Regions from separate parts of the Homo sapiens genome. Here regions 2 and 3 are each linked to region 1. The links are contacts of gene promoters, found by promoter capture Hi-C in human tissues and cell types (Jung and others, 2019). All regions are on one chromosome and are shown on one strand. The core of a region is centred on a gene start or on the middle of the fragment in contact, and the rest is flanking DNA. Distances in the headings are between cores, read along the strand shown.

Region 1 (2,812 bases), core at 200-2,699:
ACTCAAATGGAACCTCGGGCCACACAGCTCAGGCACACACCATCGGGGCTACTGGCTGCTTGGAGTTTATTTTCCGCTTGGTGCCAGGTGCACAGTTCCAGGTGTCAGGAAAGCTAGCGAGTGCTGGGGCCGGGCGGTAGAGAGCGGGGCTCTCACTGGTTTTTGGTGTCTGCTGTGTTGATGCGAAGGTCTGCTTGCTGCAGCCGCCTAGTTTACAGGGTGGGGGGTGGGAGGTGGGGAGGGGGGCGAGGGATGCGGAGTGGGGAGAGGGGCGGGGAGGGGCTCTGGTGGACTAGCGCCTCCGCAGGCCTGGGGCTGGTGGTAACCGCTCAGGTCAGGACGGGGGCCCAGCGCTGGCTGTGCTGGACTGACCGCCGGGCTGCTTCCTCGGGGCGTCCCGAGCCAGGCCACAGGCGGTCATGCTGCTGGAGGCCTGGGGAGGTTCCGAGTGCTCTGCGGACTCCAACACCGTGGCCATGAACGGGAGGGTGGACTTCCCGAAAAAGAAGCTGGCCCACCAATGACCCGGGTCAGCCTTGGGGAGACCTGAGAGAAGCGAAGTGGGGTCTTGATGCTGCCAGCTCCTGGAGGAGCGGGGGGAGAAAGGGGCGATCCTGCACTCACCTGGGGGGTGGGGAATGGCTTCCCCGGGGCACTCGGTACTGCTGCAGGAGCTGTTGCTGGAAGTGGAACCCAGGCGGCCTGGAGAGGAGAGGTCCCGTCAGCAACGCGGGGCGCGGAGCCCCCCAGCCCACCGGCCTTCAGGCCGAGCGCTGGTTCCGCAGCCTGCACGGGGCCGGCACTGGCGCCAGCAGAGCATCCGCGTGGATGGGGGGCAGGGGCTACTCACGCCGGTAGTAGTCGTGGGTGGCCACGAGCGAGCCGCTGGAGGGGATGGCCGCCATGCTTTAGCTTGCTGGCTGGTGGGATCTGCGCATGGGGGTGGAGGAGCCCCTCGGGTCAGCGGCCTTCCGTCATGAAGGGCGCTCCCCAGCGGGTGGAGCCGCCGCGCTGGGTTATTTACCGAGGCGGGGCTCCCCAGCTCCCGGCACCGCCTTCGCCGCGCGGGGCGCGGGCGGCTCCAACCAGCCCAAACCGGCCGAGCGGGTGGAACAAAGGCGCTTTGTGCGCGGGGCCCCGGCCCAGACGTCGGGAACCTGGTGGGCGCCGTCCCAACCCGCCCGACCCGAGAGGAGCCCGCCGGGGACCCCGAGCCCAGCGCTCGCCAGGCGGAGAGGAGAGGAGCCCCCGGCCCAGCCCCGCCCCTCGCCCCCCGCCCCTCGGGCCTGCTCGTCCCACCCGCGCGCGGCGCCCCTCACCTGGGCGGCGACCCCTCGCGGGCCTCGGCGCACGATCACGGGTGGCGGGGACGGGGGCGCTAGGCCACGGAGCCCATTTGCAGAGAAGACCGCGGGAAGCCGCGCCACGACAGAGAGGCGCGCGCGGGGTGCGCACGCGCGGACGCGCCCACTTATATGCGCGGGGGCCGCGGCGCGTCACGGAGGGCGGGGCGCACAGGCTCCTCCCCGGGCCCCACCCGGCCCCGCCCCTTTCCTGGCCCCGGCGAGGCCGCGCCCCCAGCTTCCACCTCGGTGCGACTCTCGCCGTCTGGCTTGGGCTGAGCCCAGCCCTGCGGCGTTCGTCTTGGGGCGGCCCGGCCGGTCCTGGGTCTGCAGGGGTTAAAAGGCCCCGCGCCCGGGTCCGGGAGCCCAGCCCCCGCCCCTCTCCCGGGCCCAGGCCCCCGTCTCGGACGCGTCTCGGAGCCCCGCCTGGTCCAGCCCGCCCGTCCTCTTCAGCCCTTGTGGAGGCGACGGGGGCGCCGGGCGGGCCAAAAAGTGCTACGTGCGCGGAGCCCTCCGGCCCGGCCTCCAGGGACTTCGCAGCCAGAGGAACCTGGATCTCTCCCGAGTCCCCCTCACAGCTCTGGCAGCTCCGGAACCTGCACCCCGGTTGCCCAGCCCCAGGACGCGCCTGCTGCCCGCAGGGGGCGGTGAAAGGGTGGGCGGATGGCGGGGCAGTGGGAGGCGGGGCCCAGTCGGAGAGCGGGGCGGATTTGGGCGGGTGAGGTGAGTCTCCAGTCGCCGGAGGCAGAGGCTGGGCCCCACTGCTCGGAGACCCCATGTTTGGGGAGCCCAGAGCGTTCCCGGCAGGGCCCTGGGGCCCGGGGGACGGCCCGCCATGCCAATCAGGAGGGGGCGCGTTTTCCCTTCCCAGGCAGAAAGGCGTCCTCCCTCTCCTCCTCCCCCCAGCGCAGAATCCTCCCCACACCTCCCTCGGCCCCGCAGGGGAAATCGGCCTGCCCCTACGGAAATCCCGTTTCTTTATACACCCGGTCCTGGCTGGGCGGTGTCTTCCCCGTGGAAGAGAGGGTCCGGGAGGTCCGTGGGGCGGAACAGTCCGAGGGCTTCGGGAGTCAGCCCGGGTGGATTTGTTTCGTGGCTCTCGTTGCTGGCTGGGACGGCCGTGTGCCCGTGTTGTTCCGGAGATCGAGGCCAACGGATGCCGTACTCTGTCCTCGCCGGGTGCTCAGTGAGGACCCACAGCTGGGCAGGGACCCTGGGAGGCCCCTGAGCAAGACTTGGAGGGACGCCCTTGTGCCCCCTGAGCACGTGGGGAAGGCGCTGTCCTGGGCCCTGCACCGCTCTGTGTGTTCATTGCACGAGTGTGGTAAGCACCTACTATGTGCACATGGCCGAGCCAAGCGCAGGGAACGGTAAACCAAGGGAGAACGGCCTTCCCGTGGGGAGCAGTGCAGAGGCTGGCGGGGGCGGGTGGTGGGGAGAGCTCAGGTTTCAGCTGAGGTCTAAGGACG
Region 2 (2,812 bases), core at 113-2,612, 580 kb after region 1:
GTCTGGAGAAATCAAGCAGGTGTCTGAATTACAGATCCTGAGCTCAGAGCTGAAAACATGAATTAGTGAAATAAGGGGCGGGGGGGGCGGTGCTGGGGCACAGGGATATTTAAAGCCAAGAATTCAGCAAAGACCATAGGAAGAGCGTAGATAGGGAATGAGAATCGCCATTACTTGGAGGATGCCAACCTTGAAGGTAAAGCAGAGAAAGTGGCACCAGCAGAAGAAAACTTGATGTGGAGCGGCAGGTAAAGTGGAGGAGAAACCAGGAGTCGCTGTCACACACGAACACCCATCTTTCGTTGTCAACTGCAAAACTCACTGAGACCAACTTTTTATTCACGACAATTAATGGTAACTTAAGGACTCATTTTCTTTTTCTTTTTTTTTTGAGACAGAGCCTCGCTCTGTCGCCCAGGCTGGAGGGCAGTGGCGCGATCATGGCTCACCGCAGCCTCGACCTCCTGGGCTCAAGCGATCCTCCCACCTCAGCCTCCAGAGTAACTGGGACAACAGGAGCGCACCACTCTGCCTGGCTAATTTTTTTATTTTTAGCAGAGAAGGGAGTCTCGCTGTTGCCACGGCTGGTCTCGAACTCGCGGGCTCAAGTGATCCGCCCACTTCGACCTCCGCCACCGCGCCCGGCCCTAGGACCAACGTTAAGAGCTCCCTAGGAAAAGGCACCTTTTCTCTCGGCCCATTCGGTGATCGGCACTCACAGCGCTTCCACTCCGGGCAGTTACGTGCGCCCATGAAAAGCAACAACTTTGTAGAACTGGCCAGTCCTGTTAGCAGGAAGAACTCGGTAGTCTCAAACTCCAGCATAAAAAGATTCAGCAGAAGAAAACACCCGTGTGCTGAAGACTCCTACTTTCCATGCCACACTTTACATCCTCACCCGCTCGGTTTCTGCTTTAAAGCAGCAGATTTTATTAAAAAGACTTCGTTACGGACGTCGCTCCTCCACAGAGACAGCTACCGCCGCCCCTCAGGCTGGCCGGGACCGCCCCAGAACACCAGCGCCTGAGGCCGCGCGCCTGGAGGCTGAGCCCTGACTGCCCCCTGGGCACCGGCGCGGGGCGGCCGTCCGGGCCTGGACTCACTGCGCGCCCCAATTCCGCACCTGCCAGCGCCGGCGCTTCCAAGGCCCCCAGAGCGGGGGCGGCGCGCACCCCGGCCACATCCCGCCTGCCCGCCCGGCCCGGCCCCGGGAGACGCTCGGCCCGGCCGCCCGGGCCCGCCGCCGCCATCTTACCGTGCGGAACCTGCCTCCCGCGCTGCGCGGTCTGGGCGGCTGCGGCTCCGCAGCCTCTCCTGGGCTGGGGAGAGGTGGCGGCCGCCGGGGCGCCCGAGTAGAAGGAGGCAGAGGTGGGGGCCGCGGCGGAGGCGGGGGCGGGGGCGGGGGCGGGGAGCGGGAGGGCAGGCGCACCGGAGGCCGCCCCTCAGCACCTCTCGCGACAGCAAGAGAGCGCGAGAGCGCGAGCCGATGACCAATGAAGCGCCCCCGCGAGGGGGCGGGGCGGACGGCCTCCCGGAAGCGCGGAACCTCAGCTTCCGTACTTGCGCAGAACTCCCCTCGCGGCGACCACGCACTACGGGTTGGCGCCAGAGTCAAAAGGCGTCGGCCCTCTGGCAAGATGGCTGCTGCGGAGGCGTTGGAGCGCGGAAATCTGGAACCGGGATGGCGACGTCTACACTGAGTCGGAGGCGAAGGTCCCAGCTTTTTTCCTGTCGTTTGCGTGAGGCCGCACGGGGTGGGGCGGGGGAAAGGCGCCGGGTGTCCGCGGCCGCCCCTCAGACGGGGAGGGAGTCCCCTCCCGACCGGCGGCCTTCCAGGGCTAGTGTCCCTGAGGTCCAGGGAGAGACGGCTGACCCGAGACCGGGCTGGGCGAGAGCTGTGCTGTCTGCGCGTTGAAGCGAGTTCCCCCGCTTTACTCGAGATGTTGTTGAGCGCGTCCTCACTCGAGGCCAGGTGGGGAATCAGAAGGGCCCTGCCCTCAGGGCGCCTCCCATGGGCTACGCCGAAGGGCGGGACGCGGCCAGGGCGCGCGGGACAAAGGAGACCCCACTTGCTTGCGGGGCGGAGTCCCGGCGGCGGCGCGGGGCAGGGCCGGGGTTACTCGGTGACTGGAGACCCTCCCGGCAGGAGCGCGGGTTGAGGCCGCACTTGGGTATTTGCGCGTTTACTTGCTTATTGCCTGTCCGCTCAGGAGGAATGCGAAGTCTGTCATTGCAGGGTCCCATGTTTCCGTTGCTGGGAAGTACCTTAAAATATTTGATAGAGCCGAAGGAAGAAATAGAGTCCTTGAGGGGCAGCTCCTGATTTCATCTGTGAGGAATTCACGGGACGGCTTCTTTCTGAAGTCAGGGGTGAGGTGGTTTCGTGTGTTTGCTTACAAGCGAGCTGAACAACGTGTAAGCTATGTCGGTCGGTCTACTCAGCGACAGTAAGTCCAGTTCGGCAAATAGGTTGGAGGAGACTGATTTTGGACATTTTCCGTTAATCGAAAGAGCTAAATCTGCAGGTATAAGGTCTTGACAAAATTATGCTTCATATGCAGAGGCAGTACATGCCAGTAATTTTTTCATTTGCAACTACATAACCCTATGGGAAACAGTTATTGGTCTTTATTTAGTTATTTATTTTGAGACGAAGTCTCACTCTCGCCCAGGCTGGAGCGCAGTGGCGCCATCTCGGCTCACTGCAACCTCCGCCTCCCGGGTTCAAGCGATTCTCCTGCCTCAGCCTCCCGAGTAGCTGGGACCACAGGGGCGCACCACCACGCCCAGCTAATTTTTGTATTTTTAGTAG
Region 3 (2,812 bases), core at 130-2,629, 590 kb before region 1:
AAGGGTAGCTCGGGGCCCACCCACAGTGTACCCTCAGGCTGGCGACATCAGGGTACTCAGGGCGACTGCCCAGGCTCCTGTCCTAACCAATAGACTTGACAGAGCAACTCTCAGGAAAGAAGGCCGACCATGAGTGTGCGGTGACATCCTTGCAACCCCACAGGCAGCGGGCACAGTCTCGATGGGCAGACACATCTCCCCAGACTGAAAACACACAGTGACCAGGCACGGTGGGTCATGGCTATAACCTGAGCACTTTGGGAGGCTGAGGTAGAGGCTGAAGCTCAGGAGATCGAGACCAGCCTGGGCAACATGGTGAAACCCCGTCTCTACAAAAAAAAACACAAAAATTAGCCAGGCATGGTGGCACATGCCTGTAGTCCCAGCTACTTGAGAGGCTGAGGTGGGAGGATCACCTGAGCCCAGGGAGGTCAGGGCTGCAGTGAGCCATGATAGTGCCACTGCACCCCAGCCTGGGTGACAGGGCAAGACCCTGTCTCAAAAAAGAAGAAAGGAAAGAAAACACAGACCCTCTGACCCAACACGTCTCCGCTGAGGAGCGGCTCTGAGACTGGCGACTGCTCGTGTCAGCTGTGGCGTTGCCTGCAAAGCAGGTCCAGATGCGGCCGAGCTGCACACACACGGGTTGGATAAGCCAGGGTGCGTCCAGCAAGGAAGAAAAGCAGGGAGAAGGGAAGGACTTAAAGACCAACCCAGAGCAGAGTGTGATGCTCACCACCTCTGCAGGACGGCGGGAGAGTTACGTGTCAGCGTGAGAACGTCTTCTCTGCAGCCTTTCACAGCTTGCCTAGGCTGAGTTCCTCTTTTAGCAAAAGACAAAAAAAGAAGGTGGGTTGCCTATGGCCAACAAGTTCTGCTTCCACATGAGGGCATACAGACCCCCCAGATGCCCACACTCAGCCAAGGACATGTAGACCCACTCAGATACAACGCAGAGCTCACCCACAGAGACCCCCATACAGGCAGACACAGGCCCACACACGTACATGTCCTAACTGGCACACACACACAGGAACACACCATGTACACACACAGGGTGGGGCAGGAGACCCACCAAGACACCCATGTTCACAGATAAGGGTGCCCAGGCCCACAGTGACTCCCGGACAGAGGCACAGATGCCTTCAGTGCCCTCTGCCCGAAGACCTGGGCACACCCAGAGGCCCCTGCATGGAGTCCCTTCCTGACACACAGGCGCACACGTGCCTCAGCCGCCCACTGAGGAGTCTGCCTGGGTAAGTGAATGCTGAGGAGACCCTGGGACAGCCGACTGCAGGCGCTACTGCAGCTCAGGGGAAGGTGGGGCCTGCCTTCCGGGCTCCACGTCAGCAAGGGGGATCCGCCTCCCTCCCTCACCAGCATCAGCACTGACACCAGGCTGGGAACCTCGCAGCCGGGGCTGAGGCAGCCAGCAGGGCAGGTCTTGAAACTCCTGAAACCTCAGCTGGAGGTCTGTCAGTGAGGACCACACCTCGCCCTCCATCCCTGCGACTGCCTGTACTGGCCAAAACCAGGAACACACCAAGGCTACCAACTTCTGGACTCGAAGCACTGGACAGGTCAGTGGAGAGAAGAGTAGCTGGACCAGCAGGGTCTGCAGCATCTCTCGGGAGGGTGTGAGGGAGGGTGCAGACTCCAAGACCCCTGAGGGAAGGACCTTCAGATTCAAGGGAGCCAGAGATGAGCTTGGGAGGTGTGTTTCCAAAGGGACCGCTTGATTCTACGCAGCCCGTGCATCTGCGGGTTGCTGGGGCAGGGACGGATCCACATCTCTTCCCAGGAGGGTGGCCAGCAGCTGCTCTCTGCGGGAGGAGGGAACTGATCTGCTGAAGTCTCACCAGGAAGAGGCGGGAGGAGGCCCCCACACACCCCACCAGGCTCCCTCTGGCCCCATGTCCTTGACCTGGCAAAGTGGCCGCAGTCTCTGCCAGAGAACCTGGAGTGGCTGTGCCCTAACAGACGGCCGGATCTCAAAGTCTCTGGTTGTTTTTCTTTCCTAGAATCCAGCCCAAGGAGGCCCCCAACCAGATACCCAACTCCAAGGCACCTCCCACCTGCCCAGGGCGCAAATCGTCAACGGTCCCAGCTACAATGCAGGCCGCTGGGCACCCAGAGCCCCTTGACAGCAGGGGCTCCTTCTCCCTCCCCACGATGGGTGCCAACGTCTCTCAGGACAATGGCACTGGCCACAATGCCACCTTCTCCGAGCCACTGCCGTTCCTCTATGTGCTCCTGCCCGCCGTGTACTCCGGGATCTGTGCTGTGGGGCTGACTGGCAACACGGCCGTCATCCTTGTAATCCTAAGGGCGCCCAAGATGAAGACGGTGACCAACGTGTTCATCCTGAACCTGGCCGTCGCCGACGGGCTCTTCACGCTGGTACTGCCCGTCAACATCGCGGAGCACCTGCTGCAGTACTGGCCCTTCGGGGAGCTGCTCTGCAAGCTGGTGCTGGCCGTCGACCACTACAACATCTTCTCCAGCATCTACTTCCTAGCCGTGATGAGCGTGGACCGATACCTGGTGGTGCTGGCCACCGTGAGGTCCCGCCACATGCCCTGGCGCACCTACCGGGGGGCGAAGGTCGCCAGCCTGTGTGTCTGGCTGGGCGTCACGGTCCTGGTTCTGCCCTTCTTCTCTTTCGCTGGCGTCTACAGCAACGAGCTGCAGGTCCCAAGCTGTGGGCTGAGCTTCCCGTGGCCCGAGCAGGTCTGGTTCAAGGCCAGCCGTGTCTACACGTTGGTCCTGGGCTTCGTGCTGCCCGTGTGCACCATCTGTGTGCTCTACACAG

What was found. The method cuts DNA at HindIII sites, captures the fragments that hold promoters and counts their contacts. A contact is called where the count stands out against the background at its distance.
Region 2: a contact is called between the fragment with the promoter of GID8 here and the fragment with the promoter of PPDPF in region 1, in 1 of the 25 tissues and cell types used here (dorsolateral prefrontal cortex).
Region 3: a contact is called between the fragment with the promoter of NPBWR2 here and the fragment with the promoter of PPDPF in region 1, in 3 of the 25 tissues and cell types used here (dorsolateral prefrontal cortex, lymphoblastoid cells and spleen).

What each region holds. Positions count from the first base shown.
Region 1 is chr20:63,519,402-63,522,213 of GRCh38, reverse strand. It overlaps PPDPF (pancreatic progenitor cell differentiation and proliferation factor), which reads right to left and starts at 1,449. Exons shown (of 4, transcript NM_024299.4): 1 at 1,320-1,449; 2 at 851-930; 3 at 625-702; 4 at 8-546. The coding sequence starts at 905. The coding sequence ends at 335. It overlaps LOC102723814 (a long non-coding RNA gene), which reads left to right and starts at 1,541. Exons shown (of 2, transcript XR_430332.4): 1 at 1,541-2,812. RefSeq lists silencers at 997-1,196, 1,307-1,856, 1,917-2,166 and enhancers at 1,439-2,315, 2,316-2,812. The HindIII fragment of the contact is 19,807 bases long and covers 1-2,812 here.
Region 2 is chr20:62,936,697-62,939,508 of GRCh38, reverse strand. It overlaps GID8 (GID complex subunit 8 homolog), which reads right to left and starts at 1,362. Exons shown (of 5, transcript NM_017896.3): 1 at 1,256-1,362. It also overlaps a transcript of DIDO1 not described here. RefSeq lists silencers at 992-1,121, 1,192-1,421, 1,792-1,841, 2,112-2,161 and an enhancer at 628-1,296. The HindIII fragment of the contact is 10,021 bases long and covers 1-2,812 here.
Region 3 is chr20:64,106,132-64,108,943 of GRCh38, reverse strand. It overlaps NPBWR2 (neuropeptides B and W receptor 2), which reads left to right and starts at 1,379. Exons shown (of 2, transcript NM_005286.4): 1 at 1,379-1,580; 2 at 2,022-2,812. The coding sequence starts at 2,113. RefSeq lists an enhancer at 1,331-1,831. The HindIII fragment of the contact is 24,186 bases long and covers 1-2,812 here.